Linked DNA regions of Homo sapiens: regions 2, 3 and 4 are each linked to region 1. Evidence: promoter capture Hi-C in 16 types of primary human blood cells and fetal thymus (Javierre and others, 2016). All regions are on one chromosome and are shown on one strand. The core of a region is centred on a gene start or on the middle of the fragment in contact, and the rest is flanking DNA. Distances in the headings are between cores, read along the strand shown.

Region 1 (2,522 bases), core at 13-2,512:
AAGAAAAGTAGCGATATATTCAAACTAAGAACATACATGCTGTGTAAGACCATGGGGAAAAATCCCTGTATTCGGCCTCCTCCTGATACGACATTTTAACCAAACGTGACTTCAGAATGTGTAAAAAAAAAAAAACCTCAAGAAAACGATAAAAAGATTTGGGAAAACAGTGAAAATATTGTATCAGCGCTCCGAAGACATTAAGTACAGGAGGGTCCCTCAATTGTGTAATCTAATTACACGCTGAGTGTACAGGAGTTCCAGGTAAGATTTCTCCTCCAAGAATGATACATATTAGAGCAGCGTGACAAAATGAACGAAAAACGGTATAGTAGAGTGCAGCAAAGAACAATTTGAAGAATAGTTTGGTGCAAGAGGAACTAAGTTTTGTGTTGGCAGGCACACAGATTAGTTGCCCTTTCACAGTATTAGAGAAACAAGTATGTCGCCTCACTTAGGGTTACCTAAGAAGGTCCGGCCAGACACAGGAAAAACAATGAAGTGCTGGGGAACAACGAGTTTGAGGACGGAAGGGAAAGGGAAAAGAGAAGGGGAGAGGATACGAGGAAGAAGGAAAGGAGTAGGGAAGAAAGGAGGGTCGGTGACGGTAAAGAGGGAAGGAGCGAAAAGGCCCTTCCAAGAGGACCCGTGTGAAGAGACAGATGGGGATCTCTGCAAAGAGTCCCAATGTTAGGAGGTGGGGGTGGAGAGGGGGTAGGGAAATGGAGAGAAACTTCTGTCCCTTCAAAAAATCTCGGCTTAAGGAGCAAAGCCTGTGGGCGCAGAGAATGTAAAGAGACGGAGACAGTCGCTTTCTTCTGGAGTGGGAGGGCCAGAGGCTAGGCACAGAGCGGAGATAAATTCCCGTCAGGGGAGGGCGCTATTTGGATGGACTGGAGAGGGGCAAACGAGCAGCCTTTGGGGATGGGAGAGCGAAAGCAGCCACAGCACTGAAGCTGAGGGTCGCAAGCTGCAGCAGACCTCACGGTGGGCGGTATGCTCCAAGCAGGGCCGCAGGCGTGGAGTGAGGAGCCGCGGGACGCGCTCCCCAAGGCGGGGGCGGGGCGGGCACGGCCGCGGGCTTCCTTGGCGGCGGGCTCTAAGCCGGATCGTCTGGCCGAGCCTGGAGCGCCGGCCCCGCTCGGCCCACCCTCTCGCTAGCTCCTACCTGTCCACGCCACCTCTCGGTCCTCTTAGTCGCTGGCTCGGCCTCCCGGCGCCTGCCCGCAGGTTGTCAAGCGTCCATGATCACCCCGGCGTCCGGCGCTTTTCTGTCTCCGCCGACCCGTCGCCCGTGCAGCTCCCCCGGAAGCCTCCCACCGCTGCACTCGCGTTCCGCCCACACAAGGTTCCACCCGCCGCGTTTACAGCCTTCGACCTCCGGTGGGGAAGTGGGAGCGAGGGGGCGGGGAAGAGTCTGCAGCCCGGGAACCAGGCGGGGAGGGGGTGGCTAGGGGCCCAAGGAGAGGAATGCGGCCTAGACGGTACTGCAGCCCAACCGTCGCCATCGCCATCCCGGGCCCCAAATCCTCCCCTTAGGCTGTGCTTTCTCTCTCAGGAGCTCCCCATGGCTACTGCGCTACCCCTGGGCACCGAGATACATTAAGCCTACTAACTACCACTTATTGAGCGTTTTACCATGTGCCAGGTGCTGTACATGCATTATCTCGTTGAATTCTCATAACTGTGGCTTGTATTATTGTTCCCATTTTTCAGGTGAGTTAACTAAGTCCAAAAGTCAGAAAGTGACAAAGCTTGCTATCTTTGTCAAACCCAGGCTATCTGAGGCCGAAGACGATGTTCTTGACCTCTATTCAGAAAATGTTTTAAAATAAGCAAGAGATGGGTTAAGCCAACAATGGTTCTATGACCAAAATGTCATTGATAGAGTTGCATCTGGTGCTTACCAACTCCCCTGGGAAGATGGCTAAGAAATGCCACATAATTGAACACTTAAACTGATTCCTGTATACACCACAGTCTTTCAGGTCTTGAAAATGAGAGAGAAAAACAGCCCTATTTGCCTATCGTGCGTTAGAATGCAGAAATGAGACAGGACAAATGCAAAGGAGCCTAGCATCAACCAACTCATTCATTTATTCAAAAACATTTCTTTAGCACCTATTATGTCCTGAAAAGTTATATGAAGATAAAACAAAGCTCTTACCCTCAAAAGCTCCAATGTGTTAAATGCTATGGGGAAGATATGACAACACTTTGGAAGCACAGAAGAGGTTGGGGAAGAAAAAAACAGACAAAAAGGGGAAAAAAGGGGGGTAGTGCCCATTGTCACAGAGGCTCGCACTGTGCAGCATATACTGATGTCAAAAAGAAACCCAGAGTGGTTTGACCCCAGGGTTTTCAAGAGTGAGAAATGAGGGGTACAGAGCTGGAGTCAGGTCATCAAAGGTCTTGGAATCCACATGCCAGGTACTGGGGAATTACTTAGGCTTTTTAAGCTAAGGAGAGGTATGAATAATTGCCTTGTTAGAGTGATCATGCTAGGTGCTATAGGAGTGGAT
Region 2 (2,522 bases), core at 6-2,505, 780 kb before region 1:
GAAAATGGGGTCTTATTTTCTAAGCTAGATGTCACCTTATTATGTCAGGCCTCAGCAGTCCTGGAACAAAATACCACATGACACTACACAATGGGCTTATGGAAATGAGGCTGCATTCCCCGGATGGCCCTCCATGGAAAAGTCTGTGCCATCCCTTAATATGGTGACAGTCAGTCCGAAAGGCCACATCTTTGATGCACCATAAAGAGCAAGAGCATGAGACAAGCTAGTTTAGCACCATTTATTAAGTGATCTCAGCTGTTGTTGTAGCTGCTGCGTGTCAGCCTGTTCTTAAAACATAAAATGCTCTTCCAATTCCTCTTGTCCAGGACAGAAGGATCTTCCAGGTAGCACGCCAACAGAACAAGAGACTCCGATGACGCCAGCTTCAATGATGGTGCCATCCAGAGAGGGAGAGGGTCATGGCACATTCAACCGCGGCTTCCAGAGGTTTTGAAAAAGGAGCCTTTGGGGGCCCAGCCTGCCTGGCATTCTAGTGGAAGTGCAAAAGGTTGGCTCATTGGGAGAGGAAAGAGAGGGGGACGCAAGGGAAAGTAGCATCTGGGTCTCAAAGAGGGTTGGTCTTCTGGTCTCTACAGCTACAGGGCTGAAGTCCCAGAGGCAGACCTCTGGATAAAGCAGAGAGCAGCAGGCCAGTCTTTCTAGCAGACTAAGGCAAAAAGCCCACAGGCTCTCCTAAACTCTGTAAGGACGTGTACATATGTTTCTGTAAAAGTCACGAAGAACTGCCTTATGGTATTAGAAAGGGAGAAGAGCAGAGAAGGGGAGAATTGATGAAAAATACCTCTTTCCCTCTCCTATCCAGGTAAAAAGCTTATTTTGGGGGTAAGTGGGAGTAGGGGATATTCAGAAACCTTGAAAACGAGAATCCTAGAAACAGGTGTAGATCTCTCCAGCCTGGACTGAACGTGGCTAGAAGTCAGAAACTACTTCTATCCCAGAATAGAGAATAAGAAAAATGTGCCCAGAGTAAAGCAATGCTAACACAGGACTGCTAAGGCAAGCAACCACAGCCATGGCTGGCTAATAACTGTTCGTGACTATGATGAGTCATGCCAGCCGTTTGATCATGGACCAACGCCCATAGCAGTGTTCCCACTTAAAAACTGGCACTTAGCTGGTTTAAGCCAACTCCACTCCACATTATCTATGAATGCATGGGAAAGAGATTCCCAAATGGTCTGTCTGCTGAACATAATTGCTGGGCTCACTACTAGCCTTCAATAATAACAACATGATGATATTCTTACTAATGATGATGATGATGATAGCAATACTACTACTTGGCCCCGTAAAAGCATTCTCCATCTGAAGACCCTCAGTTAAAGATTAAATCAGCCTCACAATAGCCTTGTTAGATAAAGTACTGTCTCCCACTTTACAGATGGAGAAACTGAAGCAAAGTTGCAAAGACACTTGTCAAAGGCACATATTGGTATGGGGCCATATGAGAGAACTAAACCTAAGAGTCCTAACTCTTAGCTGGCTAGCTCTCCCTCCAGCTTTGAGACAATCTGACAGCCACTCCCCACACTTTTTCACAATAGCCTGAGCTTACTTCTGACACTCAATCACTGAGGAGCAAGCCTAACAGTGATTCTCACTGTGGACAGAGAGCTCTATTTCCCTGAGTCCTAGGGAGATTGCCAAGCTTATTTTCCCTGTGGCCTTCATGCTTCCCTTTGATTCTGCTCTCTCACACACACACTATCCCCCTTCTTCTAAGAGTCAGCTCTATACACAAGGAAATGGAGTCATTCCTGATAAGTAGTCAGTATCCCAGGACAAAGAAAATAGACTGAAGCTAACAAGTTAAAAAGACATGCAGAAGTGGGGTGAGGGTGGGCAGGGTGAAATTATCTTAAAAAACAGCAAGAAAAAGAAAAGCACTTGTCTTTCATTTTAAGATAGTGGTTAGCATATGAAAGACAAGACAGCCTGTAGAAATTAAGCAAGCCCAGGTAGTACAACTGGGTTTCTGCAGATGGGCTCTCTCTGCTACAAAGCACCTGGTAGTATAGGTGGCAGGGAGCCTCGCTGACAAAGAACTGCAGCAAGTAGCCAGAAGCCCTAGAGGGAAGGCCTGGTCTGTCCCTTCTCCACAAGTAAGTCTCCTGTCCGGCCATATTCCTCTGGGCCCAACTACAGATCTACTTATACTAAGCTTAGGGACACGTCCTCCCATAACCCCCCAACACGTACTTGATGCTGTCGGTGTGAGTTTTGTATTCCATAATGGTGTTGGGAGGTAGGTTAAGCACTCGCCGAAGTGTGTCCCGGATTCGGGCTGTGGTTGCTTGGTCACTGGCAGTCTTATTCCATATTGAAATAATGTCTTCCTACCAGAGGAACAGAAGGAATCATCAAAGCAAATCAGGGGCAGCGAGGAGAGCAAAGGCAACACAAGAAACCAGCCTGGCTCATGGGTGGCTTACCTGAAAGCGGACAGACACCACAGCCCCACAGATCTCCTCCCCAACCATGAACTGTTCCCCCAGCAT
Region 3 (2,522 bases), core at 8-2,507, 760 kb before region 1:
TTTGCACAGTACTCTCTGTATTGGAAACACCCCAATTTCCCATCAAAAGCACCAGGTCACAACCTAAACTAATAGTAATTCCACTTTACGTTTATATCGCAATAGTTAGCAATGTTCACAAGCATCTTTAAGCATCGCTGAGTGTGATCTGACCCTTATCACACCCCGGCGTGGCAGCAGGGTCCTAGCCACTAATGTGGTTTGAGCAACAATGGCTTAGAGGCTGGGTAACTTTTCTACAGTCAAACAGATGGTAAGTGGTGAATCTGGGACTAGAAATCCAGGTTTTCGGATGAAGAGACAGTCGATTTACTAGACTACTAGAAGAGAGGAAGGAACATATTCTACCTCAAGATACAATCCTTGGAGGGGGATAAGTAAAGATACTTCTGCATTTTCTCTCTGTACCTCCAAACTGTTTGATGCTGAAACTAGAAACCGGAGCGGGCAGGAGAGGGCAACAAGTATACTTAGGTCTTGGCGAGTGTGTTGGAAGACGGGAACGGGAAGGGGAGGAGAAAGAAAGTAGGAAGAGTCTCAGGAAGATAATTCCTAAGCCAGCCTTCCACCGCGTCGAGGGCAGCAACCACATTACCTCATTGCATCCTCCAAACTCTACGACAAAGGGTGTTACCGTCCCCACTCTGCAGATGAGAAAACTGAGGCTCAGAGGGGAGAGGGAGTGTGTGGGGAAAGCTGGATTCAGAGGCAGCGCTGCCAGACTGCGGAAACACCCAAACCGCCGAGGTCCCCACCCCTCCACGTCGCAGGCAATCCGCATCCACCAGGGCGGGGCGTCCGAAAATCTCCCCCTACCGGGCGGCACAGCCACCCCTCCCCCGGGCCCAGCTCTTCGCCCTCGGTTCGGACGGCCCTGGGGTCTCCGGGACTCCGGTATCCATTGCTCCCCAGCCCCCTCCTCCCCGCCAGTCCAGGCCAGGTCCGGCCGCAGCCGGATCCCAGCAGGGAAGCCGGTGCCGCAGGGTTTGCGCCGCCCCAGCCCCAGCGGGGGCGGGCGCGGGGGAACTGTTCGGGGAAGGGGCCCCGGGGGCGGCCACGAGCCACTCACGCGTCGAACTTGTTGTTCATCCTCTCGCCGCCGCTGTCGCCACTGCCTCAGGGAGTGACTTCCGCTCCACCGGGTCCCTCAGCCTTGGGCCCGGGTACTTCCGGTTTTGCGCGGGGCGCAGCGGAACGTCGGCGCGCAGGCCCGGTTTGGAAGCGGCTATCTCGGGACGCCAGCTCAGGGCGGCTGCGCAGAGGGCTGGACTCAGCGGCGGAGCTGGCTGCTGGCCTCAGTTCTGCCTCTGTCCAGGTCCTTGTGACCCGCCCGCTCTCCTAAGGGAGCGTGTCCTGGCCCCCTCCCGCAGCGGCTCGGAAAAAAGGCAGCACCGCGTCGTTGACGGCGCGGGCTCTGGACTCGCTGCTTGGTAAAAACCTTCCTCTTCCTCCAGTGCGGGACGCACTCTCTGGTATCTCTTTTGACCTCCCGGAGGCTTTCCTTTGTCGGTCGCGGCGCCACTGTACTATGGCATACCTCGTTTTATTACGCTTCGCAGATAGGGCATTCTGAAAACAAATGGAGGGTTTGTGGCAGCCCTGAGTCCAGCAATTGTATCAGCGCCATTTTTCCAACAGCATGTGCTCACTTGGTGTCTCTGTGTTACATTTTGGTAATTCTCAAAATATTTAAAACTTTTTCATGATTTCTGTGTCTGTTATGGTGATCTATGATCAGTGATCTTTGATGTTGCTATTGTCATTGTTTTGGGGTGCCACATACAGCGTCTTTTATAAGACGTGGAACTTAATGTTGTGTGTGTTCTGACCGCTCCACCCACAGACCGTTCCCCATCTCTCTCCCTCTTCTTGGGCCTCCCTATTCCCTGAGACACAACAATATTGAGATTAGGCGAATTAATGACTCTGCAATGGCCTCTAAGTGCTCAAGTGAAAGGAAGAGTCGCACATCTCTCACTTTAAATCAAAAACTAGAAATGATTAAACTGAGTGAGGAAGGTATGTCAAAAGCCGAGATAGGCCGAAGGCTAGGCCTCCTGCGGCAAACAGTTAGCCAAGTTGTAAATGCAAAGGAAAAGTTCTTGAAGGAAGTTAAAAGTGCTACTCCAATGAACACACGAATGATAAGAAAGCGAAACAGCCTTATTGCTGATATGGAGAAGGTTTTAGTGGTCTGGATAGAAGATCAGACCAGCCGCAACATTCCCTTAAGCCAAAGCCTAATCCAGAACAAAGCCCTAACTCTCTTCAACTCTATGAAAGCTGAGAGAGGTGTGGAAGCTGCAGAAGAAAAGTTTGAAGCTAGCAGAGGTTGGTTCATGAGGTTTAAGGAAAGAAGCCATTTCCATAACATAAAAGCACAAGGTGAAGCAGCAAGTGCTGATGTAGAAGCTGCAGCAAGTTATCCAGAAGCTTTAGCTAAGATCATTGACGAAGGTGGCTACACTAAACAACAGATTTTCAATGTAGATGAAACAGCCTTCTATTGGAAGAAGATGCCA
Region 4 (2,522 bases), core at 11-2,510, 650 kb before region 1:
TGCCTCCCCGGGGCAGGAGGGGATGGGGAAGGATAGGGCAGGTGTGAGGCTCAGCGAGCCCCTCACACGCTGTGGCAGACAGCAGAGAAAGGCCACCAGCCCCCCGCACACGGTACACACTCCCCACAGCAAGGGTGACACTGGTAGAGACAGAGGTTCCCACAGTGCACAAACGTTCCTCTAAAGAAAAAGCAACAACATCAATATATGAAACGCAGGGCTCTTCATGCGTTTACGACAGGGCGTCCTTCACCCTGAAGGTGCCGGCGAGCATCAAGACTGCAGAGCCAGCCACTGGGTGCCGCATTCCTGCTGGCTCAGGTGGGACCTGTTTCTGTTGCATCTTAAAGGACGATGCTGGGAAAGGCTGCTCTCGCCCTGGCAGGGCTTAGAGGTGATGAGATGAGAAAGGGGTGAAGCCATCTGCGCTTCAGAGGAAGCCTGCCTTCCCTGATCACGGAGGAACCAGATCTGAATGTTTCTCTGCTCAACTGGGAGATTGGGACTCGATTTTGACATTCAGGGATCTGGGGCATCTGTGGCCAGGAAAGACCTGTCTGGGGGAGGGGTGGAGGGGCGTCCTTCACCTCTCATGGCCCTGCCATTGAGAGAGGGGCTTCTCCTCAGTGGCTCGCATGGAACACCAGCATCAACATCAATCCCATGAAACATGCGCTCTTCATGCGTTTATGATCGGGTCTCCTTTGCCTTTAAGGTTCCAGCAAGCATCGGGCCTGTGCAGAGGCAGCACTGGGTGCCGCGTTCCTGCTGTCTCAAGTGGGACCTGTTGCTGTCACATCTTAAAGGACGATGCTGGAACGCCAGCCCTGCCACTCTCACTGCGTGATTTCAAACTTTTTTTTTTTTTAATTTTGAGACAAGGTCTTGCTCTGTTGCCCAGGTTGGAGTGCAGTGGCATGACCTCGGGTCACTGTAGCCTCCACCTCCCTGGTGGCCCAAGTGATCCTGATCTTCCCATCTCAGCATCCAAGTAGCTGGGACCACAGGCGCGCACCACCTTGCCCAGCTAATTTTGTCTATAGAGAGGAGGTCTCACTATGTTGCCCAGGCTGGTCTCCAACTCTTGGGCTGAAGCGATCCTCCTGCCTCTGCCTCCCAAAGTGCTGGGATTACAGGCATGAGAGACCATGCCTTGCCAGATAAATTAGTTAAGCTTTCAGAATCTCCATTTCTTTCAAAGCCTGTAAAATAGGGAAGCAATGTGCCAGTGCCTGGCCTTGAAAAAAAAATAAGACATCATTGTAACACGTCCTATGTTGTGACTGGCATGGTTGCCCCAACTCTAGGAATTGGGCTAAACACGCAGCTACATTTCTAGAAGCTTCTCCTGGCCTCCCTCTGACAAGGGCACCAGTCTTGTCCCAGCCTCCGTCTCTTTTACCAGGTGGCCTCCCTAGTCATGCTCTGCTCTGCGGCCTTCACGCCAAAGCTGGTCCCATCCCTCTGCTGGAAGGGCCCTCTGCGGCTCCCCCGTCATGGGCTCAGTCCTACCTCCAGGGAATGAGGTTCTGCGTCCAGCTCCCCTCCCCTTCCACACGCCCAGCAGTGAGCATCATCGTCCTTCGCCCTCCCTCCACCCATCTCCTGCCACCTGCTTCTTGACATCCCATTCAGAGCCCATCCCAGCACTCAGCCGCCATGTCTGTGACAGCCTCTTTGAACACAGGGGCCATTTCCTTCCATGCCGTGTCGTAGACTCCGGTCCCACTCTAGATGCCAAGTGCATCTGCACAGAATGAAGGACTCTAAGATGGGGCATGCCAGGCTCCAATTCAGGAGCTGAGAAGGCTGGGTCCCTGCCCCAGTGCCCTGTTCTGCTGGGCACACAGCTCTGGGCTGCGTGTTTCTGATGATGATGCTTGCTGCTGGGCGTGTGGATACTGTCAAGCTCCGCCTGAGGGAGCTCATTCCCAAGCAGGCCAGAGGCAGCCAGGGCCCTGTCCTCTCTCCTCCCTGCTCCCCACGGGTGGACCGAGCACCACCCTTGGGCTCAGACAAGACGGTGGCGACATCCCAGCATGGCATCCCTCCTCCTTCAGAGCTAGGCTTTGCTAGTGTCCTTGTGTCCTCACTCTCTTTTGCATCCTCAAGGCTCCCCTAAGTGGCTGCGGTCACCAAACTGTGCCCTTGGAGCAGCACCGGGAGAAGGAGAACAGGCAGCCCCTGCCCCTGCAGCTGCCCCGCGTGGTGCCACCCACATGCTCGTCCCTTTCCAGGCCCCTGCAGCCCAGGCTGTTCCATCTCTTTCTGTGTGGGTCAAAGCCTAAGGTGTAAAAAATAAAAAAATAAATAAAAAATAAAAGACTGGCCACACACAGTCTCCCCACCCCCAGGCCGCGGTCTGCACTGCTGCACCAGAGGGCCTTGGCCCTAACTTCCTGGAGCCTCAACAGCAGAGGTGCATTCCTGAGTGCCAGACTAATTCCAAGAGATGGTGAGAAAGGACTGTTTTATAGGAAAGGGGTGAGATAGCAAAGTCACGGAGGCAAAACAAAACAAAA

Evidence for each region. The method cuts DNA at HindIII sites, captures the fragments that hold promoters and counts their contacts. A CHiCAGO score of 5 or more calls a contact.
Region 2: a fragment that was not itself captured here is called in contact with the fragment with the promoter of COPS7B in region 1 in 2 of 17 cell types (endothelial precursors and non-activated CD4 T cells); the score reaches 6.3 in endothelial precursors.
Region 3: the fragment with the promoter of TIGD1 here is called in contact with the fragment with the promoter of COPS7B in region 1 in 1 of 17 cell types (total CD8 T cells); the score reaches 5.5 in total CD8 T cells.
Region 4: a fragment that was not itself captured here is called in contact with the fragment with the promoter of COPS7B in region 1 in 1 of 17 cell types (fetal thymus); the score reaches 6.0 in fetal thymus.

The regions. Positions count from the first base shown.
Region 1 is chr2:231,785,185-231,787,706 of GRCh38, reverse strand. COPS7B (COP9 signalosome subunit 7B) reads right to left here and starts at 1,262. Exons shown (of 7, transcript NM_022730.4): 1 at 1,169-1,262. RefSeq lists silencers at 1,005-1,264, 1,355-1,534, 1,545-1,624. The HindIII fragment of the contact is 4,652 bases long and covers 1-1,756 here.
Region 2 is chr2:232,566,916-232,569,437 of GRCh38, reverse strand. EIF4E2 (eukaryotic translation initiation factor 4E family member 2) reads right to left here. Exons shown (of 7, transcript NM_004846.4): 5 at 2,457-2,522; 6 at 2,224-2,360; 7 at 228-493. The coding sequence ends at 421. Among named protein-coding and RNA genes, the nearest start is that of EIF4E2, 17 kb to the right of the region's middle. RefSeq lists an enhancer at 341-1,540. The HindIII fragment of the contact is 838 bases long and covers 837-1,674 here.
Region 3 is chr2:232,549,292-232,551,813 of GRCh38, reverse strand. TIGD1 (tigger transposable element derived 1) reads left to right here and starts at 1,257. Exons shown (of 1, transcript NM_145702.4): 1 at 1,257-2,522. The coding sequence starts at 1,932. It overlaps EIF4E2 (eukaryotic translation initiation factor 4E family member 2), which reads right to left and starts at 1,125. Exons shown (of 7, transcript NM_004846.4): 1 at 1,070-1,125. The coding sequence starts at 1,089. It overlaps MIR5001 (microRNA 5001), which reads left to right and starts at 1,241; the gene lies at 1,241-1,340. RefSeq lists a silencer at 745-1,114. The HindIII fragment of the contact is 3,438 bases long and covers 1-2,435 here.
Region 4 is chr2:232,436,442-232,438,963 of GRCh38, reverse strand. No RefSeq gene overlaps it. Among named protein-coding and RNA genes, the nearest start is that of ALPI, 18 kb to the left of the region's middle. The HindIII fragment of the contact is 168 bases long and covers 1,177-1,344 here.